2 separate regions of the Homo sapiens genome follow, and region 2 is linked to region 1. The links are contacts of gene promoters, found by promoter capture Hi-C in blood cells and fetal thymus (Javierre and others, 2016). All regions are on one chromosome and are shown on one strand. Each heading gives the region's core, a stretch centred on a gene start or on the middle of the fragment in contact. The rest is flanking DNA. Distances are from core to core; before and after follow the strand shown. Region 1 holds the start of OR52J3 (olfactory receptor family 52 subfamily J member 3). Region 2 has its middle 9.5 kb from the start of OR51D1.

Region 1 (7,479 bases), core at 2,355-4,854:
AGTTGAACAATTAATTTAGAAAGTGGATAGAATAAAACTTTGTTCCAAAGTTCTATAAACCTTTGTCCTGTTATTAAATTATAAAAGTAAGTGAAGACACATTTAGACATAAAATTATAATCAGTTATTACCAGAACAGGAGGTAATTGGCTAAAATGTGGGGGCTGTTGTGTCTGGCATCATGGCTGGGGTGGGGAATATTAGATGTGTCCTTATACTCAAAGGAAAATAAATTGTTCACCAAAAAGACACCTGCACTTGTATGTTTATTGCAGCACTATTCACAACAGCAAAGATACAGAATCAACCCAGGGGTTCATCAACAGCAGATGAGATAAATGAAATGTGATGCATACATATACACAATGGAATAGTACACAGCATAAAACGTACAAAATTATGTCCTTTGCGGCAACATGGATGCAGCTGGAGGCCATTATCCTAATCGAATTAATGAAGAAACACAAAAGCAAATATTGCATGTTCTGATTCATAAGTGAAAGCTAAGCACTGGGTCACATGGACAGAAAGATGGGAACAATAAACATTGGAAACTCCAAAAGAGGGGAGGAAGAGACGGAGGCAAGTGTTGAAAAACTACCTATCAGCTATTATGTTCACTACATGGGTGACAAGATAATTAAAAGCCTAAACCTCAGCAATATTCACTATACTTATGCAACAAACCTGCACATGTTCCATCTGAAGCTAAAATAAAATAAAATTTGAAAAAAAACATATATATATATTTTAGTGTTTTTATTTCTATTTTTAAACCTGCAAGTAAGATTCCAGATGGCAGCAACATGAGCGAGATAGATGTAGAAGAAAAATAGCAAAAGTTAAAAGAGGATTAATATGTTTGTTTCTTCAGAGTAGGGTAGTTACAAATTAGTTTTTATTAGAAAAAAAGAAAGATGAAATTGGTGAGGTTAATTTTTTAATAATACCCAATAGAAAAACAGATAACGGATATGCAATTTTTAAATATCAGTGGAGGAAATTTTTTATTCATAAAGGGAACTAAAATAACAAGAATCATGAAAGTGAAAAAAAAGGAAAGCAACAGGAAATGTAAAATCAGAAAGTGATTAAAAAACAAATATCAAGAAAGCAGAAATATGTTCTGATGGGTTGTAAACCTGCTACCTAAGAATTCTACTTTAAAGAATAAAACCTGGATAAATTAACTTAAAATGTAGAAACAAATAAATACAAAGATGTGCAGCATGTTTTGTAATTAAAAATAATAAGATGAATTATCTATTAGAAAATAAAAATATAAATGAAATCAATGTTACAAAACAAAACATGGAGTACATTAATCTATATAAACAAATAACAAATGATTAACAAAAATACTGTGATTGGTTGTAAATCTAAAAATTTGCAATGTGAAATCAGAAAACACACATGCTAGCCTTTGCCTCTGGAAATTGGGAGAGAAATCTGCTGGGGCAGTGTTAAAGGTGATATTAGCTTTCATGCTGTGTGCATGTTATTTAAACATCCTCTTTGAGATGAGCGCAATATAAAAAGTTGTTAATTTTTGGTATCAGGAACAAAGCTATTTGTTACATTTTTGCTTTATATTTTTAATAACCTACATAAGACAAAATGAGTATAATTGTAAAAAACAATGTGACAAGTTTGATAATTCAAAAGGTAATTAATTGCTTGGTCTTTGGAAATCTTATTAAATAAATTGAAAACCTTCAGCATCATGTGAAATGTGGCTATCCATAGCTAGATATGACATAGTCTATATTAAAGTCTGTGGGAGAACAAATGACAGATTACAGGTTGGAAAGAGAGGTCTTGGATTTTGAAATAGAGTCTTTTAGGGTCAAATATAGATTGAGAGAATACTGGAAAAAGTGATAGGCAAAGACCTCCACATATCACAGACGTAAAAATGCTATACCTAACTGGTGCTTATGTTATGGTCATGAATTCCGAAAAGCAATCAGTGATAAGTTATGCTGGTATTACTGATAAATAGTTTTGAAATTGTGTGTTTGTTTTGGCTATCATTGCACTGAGTGTCATGTCTTTGGCATATGATTCCACTTGAAGCTACAGATTTGGCAAAGATTGTTTTGAACCCGTGAAATTTGCTTTGTAAGAGGACAACAGAATGCAAGCTCCATAGGGCCAGACATTGAATGAATATAAATTAAAGGAATCATAAAATGCATGATGCATGAATAAACAGAAGTAAGAGAAAAAGAATAAAAGGAAAAAAGAAAGAAAGGAAGAAAATAAGGAAAGAAAGATTAAAGGAATAAATAAAGTAGTTTACAGGGTAAATTTCCAGTGCCACATATCTCTCATCACTAGTCAAAAAACACTCAGTAAAATATGTTCTTTCCCCAGAAAAGCAGCAGCCTGTGCTAACAAGCATTCTTCACAAGGTCATGCAGTCAAAGGCCCCACAGTTCTCTCCCAGGATATCCCTTCCAGGATAGTTGGTCAGTCTTTGAACTTCAACTACAATGATGTTTCTGACAGTTTTAAAATCCATTATTAGTCAGCATCCAGGAACAAACCAACTTGTATTGCAAGTTGACAGCAATAAGTTAAGGATCAGGAGATATTCCTTAAGGCAAGAACATATCGGTCTTTATAGAAGGATCAAAGCCCTTAGTAAAATAACATGGTAAGAGTCTTATTTTTTAGTAAAAACATAGAGCACTCGTTCTCGAATCTGTTTGGTCCTCACCCCATAAATGATGGGGTTGAGAGAGGGTGGGATAATCAAATAGAGATTGGCAACAAGAATGTGAATGTAACCTGGTATTTGGTGTCCAAATCGATGAGTAAGGAAAGAGAAGACTGAAGGGATATAGAAAACACAGATGACTCCAACATGAGCGCCACACGTGCTTAGGGCTTTTAGCTGAGCATCATGTGATGGGAGGCGGAAGACAGCACGGAGAATGTAAACATACGAGATGCCAATGAGCACCAGGTTCAGAACAAAGAAAGAAACTACAAAAAGCCCATAGATACCATTGATACGAATGTTTCCACAGGACAATTTTGCAATGCCCATGTGCTCACAGTAGGAATGGGCTATTATGTGAGCCTGACAAAAGGGTAGGCGGTAGATAAGATAGACCATGGGAAGTGTAAGTAAAACGGGACGAATTACAATGCACATGCTAATGCCCACCAACACTTGGGATGTCAAGATGGTTGCGTAATGTAGTGGAGCACAGACGGCCACATAACGGTCAAAAGCCATAGCCAGTAAGACCTCAGCCTCCATGCCAGTGAAGGCATGGATCAGAAACATCTGGGCCACACAAGCTCCATAGTTAATCTCGTGAGCATCAAACCAGAAGATACCCAGCATGCGAGGCACAGAGGTTGTAGAAAGGGCCAAATCAATAGTGGAAAGAATGGCCAGGAAGTAGAACATGGGCTCCCGGAGAGTCTGTTCTACCTTGATGACTAGCAGAATGGTGGCATTGCCCAGCAAAGCCACAAGGTAAACAGAGCAGAAAGGCCCGGAGATCCACATGTGGAAGTCTTCCAGACCTGGGATTCCAATGAGGAAAAATGTGACTGGGTGAAATATGCTCTTGTTGTGATAAAACATTTTTCCAAATCACAGTGTAGGAGAACTTGCCACATGTAGAAGCAGCAGCTGGGGAGAGAAGATTGAATAAGAAGTTTGTGTTTCATTCAGTATATGCAGAGCAAAAAGAAAAGGTTATTTGGAGGGTCCTGTTACTGTGTTTTGTAATCTACAGTCATTTGAATAGATCAGTCTCAAATAACTTAATTCTTATGTTTACATAATGATTGTAGTATAATGTGTAAACTTACACATTAAAAATTGAAGGATTCTATGACATAGAGTCTGATATTTAACTGGAATAATTGAAGATGCCCTGTACCCTTTATTAGTCCCTTGGTTGAAGAGGAATGCCTGAAAAATCAAAGATACACACAAGCGAAATGCCGATTAATTCAGGAGGAGACAGACTAATGAGGACATGAAGTTACAGACACAGATGTACACATATTTTTATAATTAAAAACTGCAAAAGTTCTTCTAATGATTTGTTAATCATTTATTGATGTAGGGCACATGCCAAGATTAAGCCTAATATCCTATCAAAAAGACAGAAAGATAACATGAGAAATGTAGATATAACAAACAAAAGCGTAAACACCCTGGAATGCTTGCCCCAGGAGCAAACACAGGCTGGGTCACATACCACCACACATGAAAGAGCTCAGAAAGAAAATAATAAACCTGTTGAGGATTTTCACTGATTAAAGTACTTTCTCAAGAGCAACAAATTTTTCGGTGGCTCATTTTGGATTTCTATAGTGATGGTAGTTTCTAGTGGTATTTGAAAGCATCATTTACTCTTCACTCTATATTAGTTCTCTAACTAGTATATACTGGGTTTATACCTCCTGCCTGATTAAGTCACTTTTCAGGTAGGTAGAGACAACCTAGAAGACTCCTTTGGTTATGTATTTGGAGAAGATGTTTTTGATGACACAAAACTGGAATAAAAAGGTCTATTTGCAGATAAAATTACTTTCTGTAATTTTCTAAAGGAAATATATAAGGGTGCTCTTTCAATGCTTTTGAAATTATGAAGAAGCAACCACTCATAAGCTGAAATAATGAAATCAAACTTCTGTGGGTCTCCAACTTGTGGCAGAGTGGTTCAGGATAGAAGAAAGTAGCACAGACTCCTGTTTCACCATTTATGTAGCTCCATATTTCTGACAAGTATGTCAAAGTGGAAAATACATCAAGATAAAAAATAAAATAAATAATATACCCATTCTGAGGTGTGGAGGGGGGTAGAGATATAGAGAGCAAGAAAGAGAGAGAAAAGGAGAGAGAAAGAAATAAGCTGTATTTCTACAGAAGTCCATTTTATTCCTTATAACCCATAGGAAAGGCAGAACATATATTTTACCAATAAACTATATAATTGCTTTGAATAAATACATCTATTCCATGGGTCTTCTAGATCGTTTTTAAATTTTCAATCTCCATTTAAGAGTTTCAAAGGATTTTTATTCCATTAGAGTCAGAAATTGTACTACCTGATCAATATCAAGCCCAGCAAGCTCAGCAACCCTTGATCATTTCTCACTTATTTCAATGTAATACATACCTAAGTCAAGAGAAAATTCACCTGCCTTATTATGTCATAGAAATATAAGCTCAAGGGGAGTATCAAGCAGCATGGCTCTATAGCCTTGTCATTTTTACAGTCCAAGAAGAGTCGTTTTATATTAAGGCTTTAGTTGCTTAGAACATTAGGAAAATTGAGTTAGCTGGGTTTTCTACTATAATTGGCACCATGAGATTGAATCCTCTGAGATGGTTAACAAAATTTTTGACTCTGATCTAGGGAATAGAAGCCCAAAGAAAAGTGATGAGTATAGAAATGTTCCTACAAAAAGATGCAGTTGTGGGAGCAAAAACATCCAAATATTATTATTTAATATATGGCATACAGATAGATACATTTTATTTCTAAGTGAAATTTTACCACCAAATTCTGTGGGATGTTGCTTTCTAGATAAAATAGTCCTTGATCCATATTAACTACCTAAGTTAAAGCCTAATAACCTGGCATTGCAGACTCCACGTTCAATCTTAGCTCTCGTATTCATTTCAATCACCATATGTTCTGAGTTTATTAAATGTTTAGTCTATGGATTAAGATCCTTGAGCCTTTGGTCACACTGCCCTCTGTCCATGATTGTTTCTCTATATTCCCCCACTTGCCAATTTTTCATACTTATATCACAGAGGTCATAGAGATAATTAGTAAAAATATCTACTCATGAAATGAGTTTGCTTCAGATCAAACACTGAATTTCTCATGTATACTATCTGTGTCAATTTGAATGACTTTCTTATTATCTCTTTGTCTCAGTTTCCTCAATTGAAAAATTAAGAATGATAATAGTACCCATAGCTTATAATATTTTTGAGGAATAATTTAAGTTGTTAATATAATACACTTAAATACAATACTTAGCATGCTTAAATGATTTTAAATGTTTTTAAAATGCTTTAAATGATTTTAAAATGTTAGTTTTTGTTATCACATAACTCAGCTCATAACAACACCTTCTTCTTAGACATCTGATCTATGAAAACCATATGGAGAAAACTCTCATGTCACTAAGTCTATACATTTGGTGTGAAAGTTCTCATTTATTCTAACATTTTATCCCTCGTTTTTCAGTCAAATGTATATATATATTTCTCATTCTCACTAAAATAACATTATAATAAATGGGAGAATTACTATCTTTTTACTTCATGCGGGAGAAGATATCTTAAACAATACTGAAGATACAATCAAGTTTAAGATGTAAAGCACAGACTTAAAAACATAAAGTTAAATTTGTCATCTTACTCTTTAGTCTTTTTGATTATATCACACAAACTTTAAATTTAAACTTCTGAAAGTTTACGAATTCAAATACAGGCATACCTCAGAGAGATTGCAGCTTCAGTTCCATACCACTGCAATGAAGTGAATGTCACAATACAGTGAGTCACACGAATATTTTGGTTTCCTGCTTGCTATAGTTTGAATGTCTGAGTCTCTGAAACTCATGTTGAAACTTAACCTCCAATGTGGCAGTATTGAAAGCTGGGGCCTTTCAGAGATAATTGGGTCATGAGAGTTCTGCCCTCATGAATGAATTAATCTACTTATGGATTAATGGATTAAGAGATTAATGGGAATGGAACTAAGAGAGACCTGAGCTAGCACATTAGCCCCCCTCACCATATGATGCCCCACACTTCCTTGAGACCCTGCAGAGTCCCCACCAGCAAGAAGTATCTCACCAAATGGGGGCCCTCAACCTCAGACATCTCAACCTCCATAACCACAAGAAATAAATTATATTATTTATAAATTACCCATTTTCAGGTATTCTATTATCAGGAACACAGACTATGACACCAATGCATATAAAAGTTATGTTGACACTATACTATAGTCTATTAAGTGTGCAATTGCATTATGTATAAAAATGCAATAAACATACATTAATTAAAAAGTACTTTGAAGAAAATGCTAATGATCATCTGATGGCTGCTGACTGCTCAGGGTGGTAGTTGTTGACAGTTGGAGTGGCTGTGGCAATTTCGTAAAATAAAACAACAGTGAAGCTTGTCAAATCAATAGACTCTTTCTTTCATGAAAGGCTTTTCTGTACCATGTAATTCTATTTTGTACCACTTTACCCTTAGCAGAGCGTCTTTCAGAATTAGTCATTTCTCTCAAACCCTGCTGCTGCCTCATCTACTCACTTTATATTATATAATACTCTAAATTATTTATCATTTCAACAAATCACTTTCTTTGCTCATCCATAAATAGCAACTCCTCATCCATTAACCTTTTGTCGTGAGATTGCAGCATTCAGTTCCATCTTCAGGTTTCACTTCTAATTCCATTTCTCTTGCTA
Region 2 (7,742 bases), core at 3,979-6,478, 420 kb after region 1:
GATGTGTAGTGTTATTTCTATGGCCTCCGTTCTGTTCCTTTGGTCTATATACCTGTTTTGGTACCAGTACCATGCTCTTTTGGTTACTATAGCCTTGTAGTATAGTTTGAAGTCAGGTAGCATGAAGCCTCCAGCTTTATTCTTTTTGCTTAGGATTGCCTTGGCTATACAGGTTCTTTTTTGGCTCCATATGAAATTTAAAGTAGTTTTTCTAGTTCTGTGAAGAAAGTCAAAGTTAGCTTGATGGGAATAGCATTGAATCTATAAATTACTTCGGGCAGTGTGGCCATTTTCACAATATTGATTCTTCCTATCCATGAGCATAGAATTTTTTTCCATTTGTTTGTGTCCTCTCTCATTTCCTTGAGCAGTGGTTTGTAGCTCTCCTTGAAGAGGTCCTTCAGGTTCCTTGTAAGTTGTATTCCTAGGTATTTTATTCTCCTTGTAGCAATTGTGAATGGGAGTTCACTCATGATTTGGCTCTCTGTTTGTCTATTATTGGTGTATAGGAATGCTAGTGATTTTTGCACATTGATTTTGTATTCTGAGACTTTGCTGAAGTTGCTTATCAGCTTAAGGAGTTTTGGGGCTGAGACAATGGGTTTTTTTTTTTTTTCTTTTTTCTTTTTTTCTTTTTCTTTTTTTTTTGGCAGAGCTAGCTGAGGTTTTATTTTGGACCAAAAAAACAAAAACAAAAACAAAAACAGCAATGGAATTGTTTTGTAGCTGGAGGCATGGGCAAAGGGGTTTTCTAAATATACAATCATGTCATCTGCAAACAGAGACAATTCGACTTCTTCTCTTCCTATTTGAATACCTTTTATTTCTTTTTCTTGCCTGATTGCCCCAGCCAGAACTTCCAATACTATGTTGAATATGAGTGGTGAGAGAGGGTATCCTTGTCTTGTGCCAGTTTTCAAAGGGAATGCTTCTAACTTTTGCCCATTCCATATGATATTGGCTATGGGTTTGTCATAAATAGCTCTTATTATTTTGAGATATGTCCCACCCATCAATACCTAGTTTATTGAGAGTTTTTAGCATGAAGGGGTGTTGAATTTTACAGAAGGCCTTTTCTGCATCTATTGAGATAATCATGTTGTTTTTGTCACTGGTTCTGTTTGTGTGCTGGATTACACTTATTGATTTGTGTATGTTGAGCCAGCCATTCTTTTGCATTTGCTGAGGAGTGTTTTACTTCCACTTATGTGGTCGATTTTAGAATAAATGCTATGTGGTGCTAAGAAGAATGTATATTCTGTTGATTTGGGGTGGAGAGTTCTGTAGATGTCTATTAGGTCCGCTTGGTCCAGAGCTGAGTTAAAGTCCTGAATATCCTTGTTAATTTTCTGTCTCATTGATTTGTCTAATATTGACAGTGGGGTGTTAAAGTCTCCCACTATTATTGTGTGGGAGTCTAAGTCTCTTTGTAGGTCTCTAAGAACTTGCTTTATGAATCTGGGTGCTCCTGTATTGGGTGCATATATATGTTTAGGATAGTTAGCTCTTCTTGTTGCATTGATCACTTTACCATTATGTAATGGCCTTCTTTGTCTCTTTTGATCTTTGTTGGTTTAAAGTCTGTTTTATCAGAGACTAAGATTGCAACCCCTGCTTTTTTTTTTTCTTTTTTTTTTTTGCTTTCCCTTTGCTTGGTAAATATTCCTCCATCCCTTTATTTTGAACCTATGTGTGTCTTTGCACATGAGATGGGTCTCCTGAATACAGCACACTGATGGGTTTATCCAATTTGCCAGTCTCTGTCTTTTAATTGGGGCATTTAGCCCCTTACATTTAAGGTTAATATTGTTATGTGTGAATTCGGTCCTGTCGTCATGATGCTAGCTGCTCATTTTGCACATTAGTTGATGCAGTTTCTTCATAGTGTCATTGGTCTTTACATTTTGGTATATTTTTGCAATGGCTGATACTGGTTTTTCCTTTCCGTATTTAGTGCTTCCTTCAGAAGCCTTCCTTCAGGCCAGGTGGTGACAAAATCCCTCAGCATTTAATTGTCTGTAAAGGACAATGGAACAGAATAGAAATTCCAGAAATAAGACTGTAAAGCTACAACCATCAGATCTTTGACAAACCTGACAAAAACAAGCAATGGGGAAATGATTCCCTATTTAATAAATGGTGCTGGGACAACTAGCTAGCCATATGCAGAAAATTGAAACTGGACCCCTTTGTTATTACCATATACAAAAGTCAACTCAAGATGAATTAAAGACTTAAATGTGAAACCCAAAACTATAAAAACCCCAGAAGAAAACCAAGGTAATACCATTCGTGACATAGGAACAGGCAACTATTTCATACAAATACCAAAAGCAATTGCAACAAAAGCAAAAATTAACAAATGGGATCTAATTAAACTAAAGAGCTTCTGCACAGCAAAACAAATAATCGACAGAGTAAACAAACAACTTACAGAATGGGAGAAAACTTTTGCAAGCTATCCATCTGACAAAGGTCTAATATTGAGCATCCATAAGAAACTTAAACAAATTTACAAGAAAAAACAACCCCATTAAAAAGTGGGCAAAGGACATGAACAGACATTTCTCAAAAGAAAACATACATGTAGCCAACAAACATGAAAAAAAGCTCAACATCACTGATCATTACAGAAATGCAAATCAAAACCACAATGAGATACTATCTCACACCAGTCAGAATGGCTATTAATAAAATATCAAAAAATAACAGATGCTGGCGAGGTTGTGGAGAAAAGGAACACTTTTATGCTGTTGGTGGGAATGTAAATTAGTTCAACTATTTTGGAAGATGGTGTGGCAATTCCTCAAAGACCTAGAGGCAGAAATTCCTTTTGACCCAGCAATCTCATTACTGGGTATATACCCAAAGGAATATAAATCATTCTATTATAAAGACACATGCACATATATGTTCATTGCAGCACTATTCACAATAACAAAGACAAGGAATCAAACTAAATGTCCATCAACAGTGGGCTGGATAAAGTAAATGTGGTACATAGACACTACGGAATAGGATGCAGCCATAAAAAGGAACGAGATCATATCCTTTGCAGGGACATGGATGGAACTGGGGGCCATTATCCTTAGCAAACTAATGCAGGAACAGAAAACCAAATACCACATGTTCTCTCTTATAAGGTAGCTAAACGATGAGAACACATGGATATATGGGGGAAACAACACACACTGAGGCCTGTTGGAGGGTTTGGGGTGTGAGAAGGGAGAGGATCAGCATAAGCATATCTGACTAGTAAACCCAAGCAAAATTGTCTCAATTATTTTTAATACTGACAATTCTGAAGACATTCCTAAATAGGAATTTTAACAATAATTTTAAAACTAGCTTTATTTGCTGTATGTTATCTTAAATCACATAGAAATATCATATAAACAGACAGAGGCACATCTTATAGCTTTCATTAAGATGTTTCATTTGTCAACTTCCAAACAGTTTTTATTTTCCCCATTCAGACTATCAGTCTTCCAATGGCTTGTTTCATTGCCCTACGCAACTGTTAGCTAGGCAGTCCTAAATTTGCACTTCTAAAACGATGACTCCTAGGTGAAACAAGGTGGAAAATTTGTATCTTAAAAGTACAGAGCTGAGACTTCAGACCTAAATATCCTACCATCATTTCCTCAAGCCAAAGAAAAAGCATGTAGGTAAAAGCCCATTTAAGACAAGATGGCCAGGAAAAGCACCTTAAACAAAAGTAAGACTTGTTATGTAAATGAAATACAATGGTAAGAATTTCTAGTGGCTCAGTCCTTCCTCTCTTTGGTGTACAGAGGCAAACACCCTCACAAATGGACAGTTCCTTTATAGATGTAAATTTCTTTTCAAAAGCATTTCAAAATATCCACCTAAATGCCAAAAGGTATATTTTGAAGACTGATTTTGTTCCATAGGTGGTCATTTTAACTTAGCTTCTGTTTTTTACCTAAAATTACTGCATTTAGGGTGAAGCCCATTAAGGAATAGTGCAAAGAAAGCATTTGCTATGTGTAGACTCATGCATAGCTCTGAAAAAAAAACAGGAAGCCTACTTTACCTGAGGGTCTACCTTTTACAAACACTTTATCCAGCTTTCTCTTCACCTTCAGGGCAGGGTAGTAACCAGACTAAAAGGTTAGAAGACTTAATTTTTCTTATCAATTAGTTGCTTAAGCTTTTTGTCTTTTATAAAGACTTTTCTTAAAAACAATAAAAACAATGAAATCTTTTTAGAAGCATCTGCACATCAATAGGCATCCCTGGATGAGCCTAATTAGACAGCTCTAATTTTCAAATGCACTTTTCAAAATGGAGTGTTGTTCATTTGGAGCTTTCTATTATAATTTTTCATTATTTTTAGTAAGATTTTACGACTTTTGTCAATGTGTGCTGCTTCCCGGGCCTAATACTTAATACTATAGGTAAGTGTCGCTAGAAGATGGAGTACTCAGTTCTTCAGTAATTAAGCATCCCATTTTTACATTTATTCTTGGCTTAATTCTCAGATCCCCTTGATCAACTTAGCCAATGATTTTTTCCCTACCTAAAAGCACAAAAGAAATAGAAGATACAAATCCCTGCAAATTTTCGAAAGCCACAGTTTACACCCCCTGAGGTACTGATACAGGAGTTAAGAAGGAATTACTTAGGCAGATAGCAAGGGAACCCCCAAATCATTTTCTAACAAAGAGCAGCCTGCAAGCTGGGAGCTTGCATGGGTGAATGCCGCAGAAACTGAGGACTAGACATTTTCATAATGGTGGCTCCATCTTCCCTTCTCTGCCAGCCGCGTGTATCCTAAGGAGCAGACCAGATGGGGCTGATAACTGAAAAGCCCATTTGCATAAGATTAGGGTAAGGTGACCAGCCTTCCCCATGTGCCATGTAAATGTCATACCTAATTGAACCAATCTGTGAGCCCTACATAAATCAGACACCACCTCCTCATGCCAGACTAAAACAATCGGTGCATTCCCTGCCAGCTGGTGTTTTTTTCTTCTCCATCCTTTCCGCATGGTCTTTTCTGCTTGGAGAACCCTTCCTCTATGGAGGAAGCTGTTCCTCTTTCTCTTCTCTTCTACCTATTAAACCTCTGCTCCTAAATTCCACCTGTGTCTGTGTCCTAAATTTTCTTGGCATGCGACAACGAACCCCTGGCATTATTCAAAGGCTTCTGGACTGAACCCAGCCTCTGACAGTCCGTCCAGGTGTTGGTAAAGGATCTCCAGCTATCCTGTCACAAAACTTTCCTTTCTTTTCTATCCATGGTCATTATGTCTACTATGCTCTCCGTATATGCAATGTGCAGGAATTTTTACAATTCAGGGGAACAGTTCTGTTAGGAAAGATCGGCAAACATGCAGTAACTCAATAAACGTCTTTACCGTTTCTCTGGTGAGTACAAGGTATTACTAGGCCAACAGCGCCACCTAGTGGAAACAGAAATCCTCTTCATGAGGCACATTGTGAGTCCTATGCCATAAACTGCGGTGTCCCAATCCTGGCTTTTCGCACTGCTAGAAAGGCTTCAACTGTGAATGGGAAAGCTCTGCCTTCAACAATTAGGAGCAAAATGTCCTCTGTAGCCAAATTTTAGCCTCAATACTGTCCCATCAGCAGATAAATGGCCATTCAGTCCCTATGTTCTCTTAAGGCACCTATTCTGCCTCCAATTAGAGTGGTACCTAACTAGTAAGGGGATTTTAAGTTTGGAAGTTAGCCAAAACCATTCTATAAAGGTAAATGCTTCAGCACCGGCCATAATAGCAAGATACAGAGTTTAATCTAGCATGCCCCCCCCCCGCCCATTAAAGGGGCCTTGCCCAACTATTACATAGTTTTTCTTGAGATCCGTTTTTCAGGGAGCCAGGCGGCTCACACAAGTCTAGGAAGTCAAAAGTCACCCAGGACTAGAGCCACCTGGGTGAGCATGACTAGCCCTAATTGCTTAGTTCCTCTGGAGTGCATTCTGAAGCACAAGGACTTCTGTGACCCAGAAACTTTAACAAAAATGTGGCTCATTTTCTTTTGCACAAGGGCATGACCTTTTTACTAGACCTCTGCAAGCATTGCAAAATAAACCCAGCTCTTTTAGCAATCATATCAGGCAGGTCCAAAAGAAAATAATTCTCTAAAATTAGAGAAGCAACTCCCAGGGGAACTATCTGAGGCTCCCCTTTATTTGGGGCCCCTTCAAGTTCCCTTCTCATTACAAGATCTTAGACAAATAAAGGGAGACTTAGGTCAATTTTCTAACGACCCTGATAGGTATATAGAAGCTTTCCAAAATTTAACTTAGGTATTTGACTTCTCATGGAGGGATGTTATGCTGCTTCTAAGCCAAACCCTAACCACAGCTGAGAAGCAGGCAATTCTGTAGGCAGCAGAGAAATTTGGAGATAAGCAATATGTCTTCTATAGCAGGCCTAAAAGGAAAAGCGAAAATAGAATGCAGGCCCAGGACCCCATAAGCCTGCTGTTCAAGCCAGCCCAACAACATAATCAGTAACAAACTTGACTACAGGCCTCCATCTTGTTTCAGGTCCTTGGGAACATGACCTGGAACCACATGGCAATACTTTGTTTTAGTCTCCACCATTTTACAATGGTGGCTGTCTTCTTGTGCTAAGTCAGTTCCTGGGTGAGGACCACACAATCAGATAAGCCAGTTTGTCAATCTAGGTGGTGCCAGCTGATCCATCAAGAGCAGGGTTTACAAAATATATTAAGGACTAATCTTGAGAGCAGTTAAGGGAGGGTCAGAATCTTGTAGCCTCAGCTCCATGACTCCTAGGCCATGGTTTCTAATCTTATGGCTAGTTTCTTGGTCTGCTCCCCAGGCAAGAGGTAAGCCTATCTTAAGAAGGGGCTGTTACCATCTTTGTTTTAGACTATAAACTATAAACCCAGCTCCTCCAAAAGTTGGTTTGGCCTATGCCCAGGGATAGGCAAGGATAGCTTGGGAGCTGGAAACAAAATGGAGTTGGTTGGGTCAGATCTCTTCCACTGTCTCAGTAATAATTTTGCAATGATAGTTTTAAAAGCTGCCTATCACCCCTTTGAAAACACCATATACACTTGAGGTTAAGTCATAACCTAATTAAGGCTTGTTGGTTTCACCTGTGAGATTACTTTTTGTAACGTTCAAAAGCTGAAAATCTTAATTGCTTCGCATGGCTAAAGTCTAGTAACAAGAGATTTAAAAGGATTTTCTTAAAAAGCTCTCAGCTTAATTAAAAGTGGATATTCAAGTTATAGGTATATTTAAAAGGCCTTTATGTTTTTCTCTTCTTGGATCTTGTCTTTCTGGAAAAAGTTTTTTTTCTTCTCAGTCAACTGAATTATTTTTCTCCATTTTTTGGCTTGCCACTCTTAATGCACACATAAGACGCCCTAAGATAACTTCTGGTAGCATGGAACTACGAGGCACCACAGACCCTGTTTTGGGAAAAAAAAAAAAAAAAAAAACCCTGTTTTCCTCGTGAAACCACAGGAATTAAAAGCAAATAGTTTAATCTGTAAGAAGTAAAAATAGTCTTAAGGATTATCGGTAAAATGCAAGTGTCATCAAAATGCAATAGGTGGTCTAAATCATTCAATTTAGATACTAGGTTTGCTAAATGGTTCGAGGTTGTATACTGCCTGCTTTACAGTTAGGTAAGGCACAGGGAGTTAGAATCTGGAAAGAGACAAGCCTTATCTGCACTTCTGTCTGGGTCCTAAGCGCCACACATGGCACATAA

What was found. The method cuts DNA at HindIII sites, captures the fragments that hold promoters and counts their contacts. A CHiCAGO score of 5 or more calls a contact.
Region 2: a fragment that was not itself captured here is called in contact with the fragment with the promoter of OR52J3 in region 1 in 1 of 17 cell types (erythroblasts); the score reaches 5.2 in erythroblasts.

Annotation. Positions count from the first base shown.
Region 1 is chr11:5,042,651-5,050,129 of GRCh38, reverse strand. It overlaps OR52J3 (olfactory receptor family 52 subfamily J member 3), which reads right to left and starts at 3,604. Exons shown (of 1, transcript NM_001001916.2): 1 at 2,669-3,604. The coding sequence starts at 3,604. The coding sequence ends at 2,669. The HindIII fragment of the contact is 8,727 bases long and covers 1-7,182 here.
Region 2 is chr11:4,624,078-4,631,819 of GRCh38, reverse strand. No RefSeq gene overlaps it. Among named protein-coding and RNA genes, the nearest start is that of OR51D1, 9.5 kb to the left of the region's middle. The HindIII fragment of the contact is 2,104 bases long and covers 4,177-6,280 here.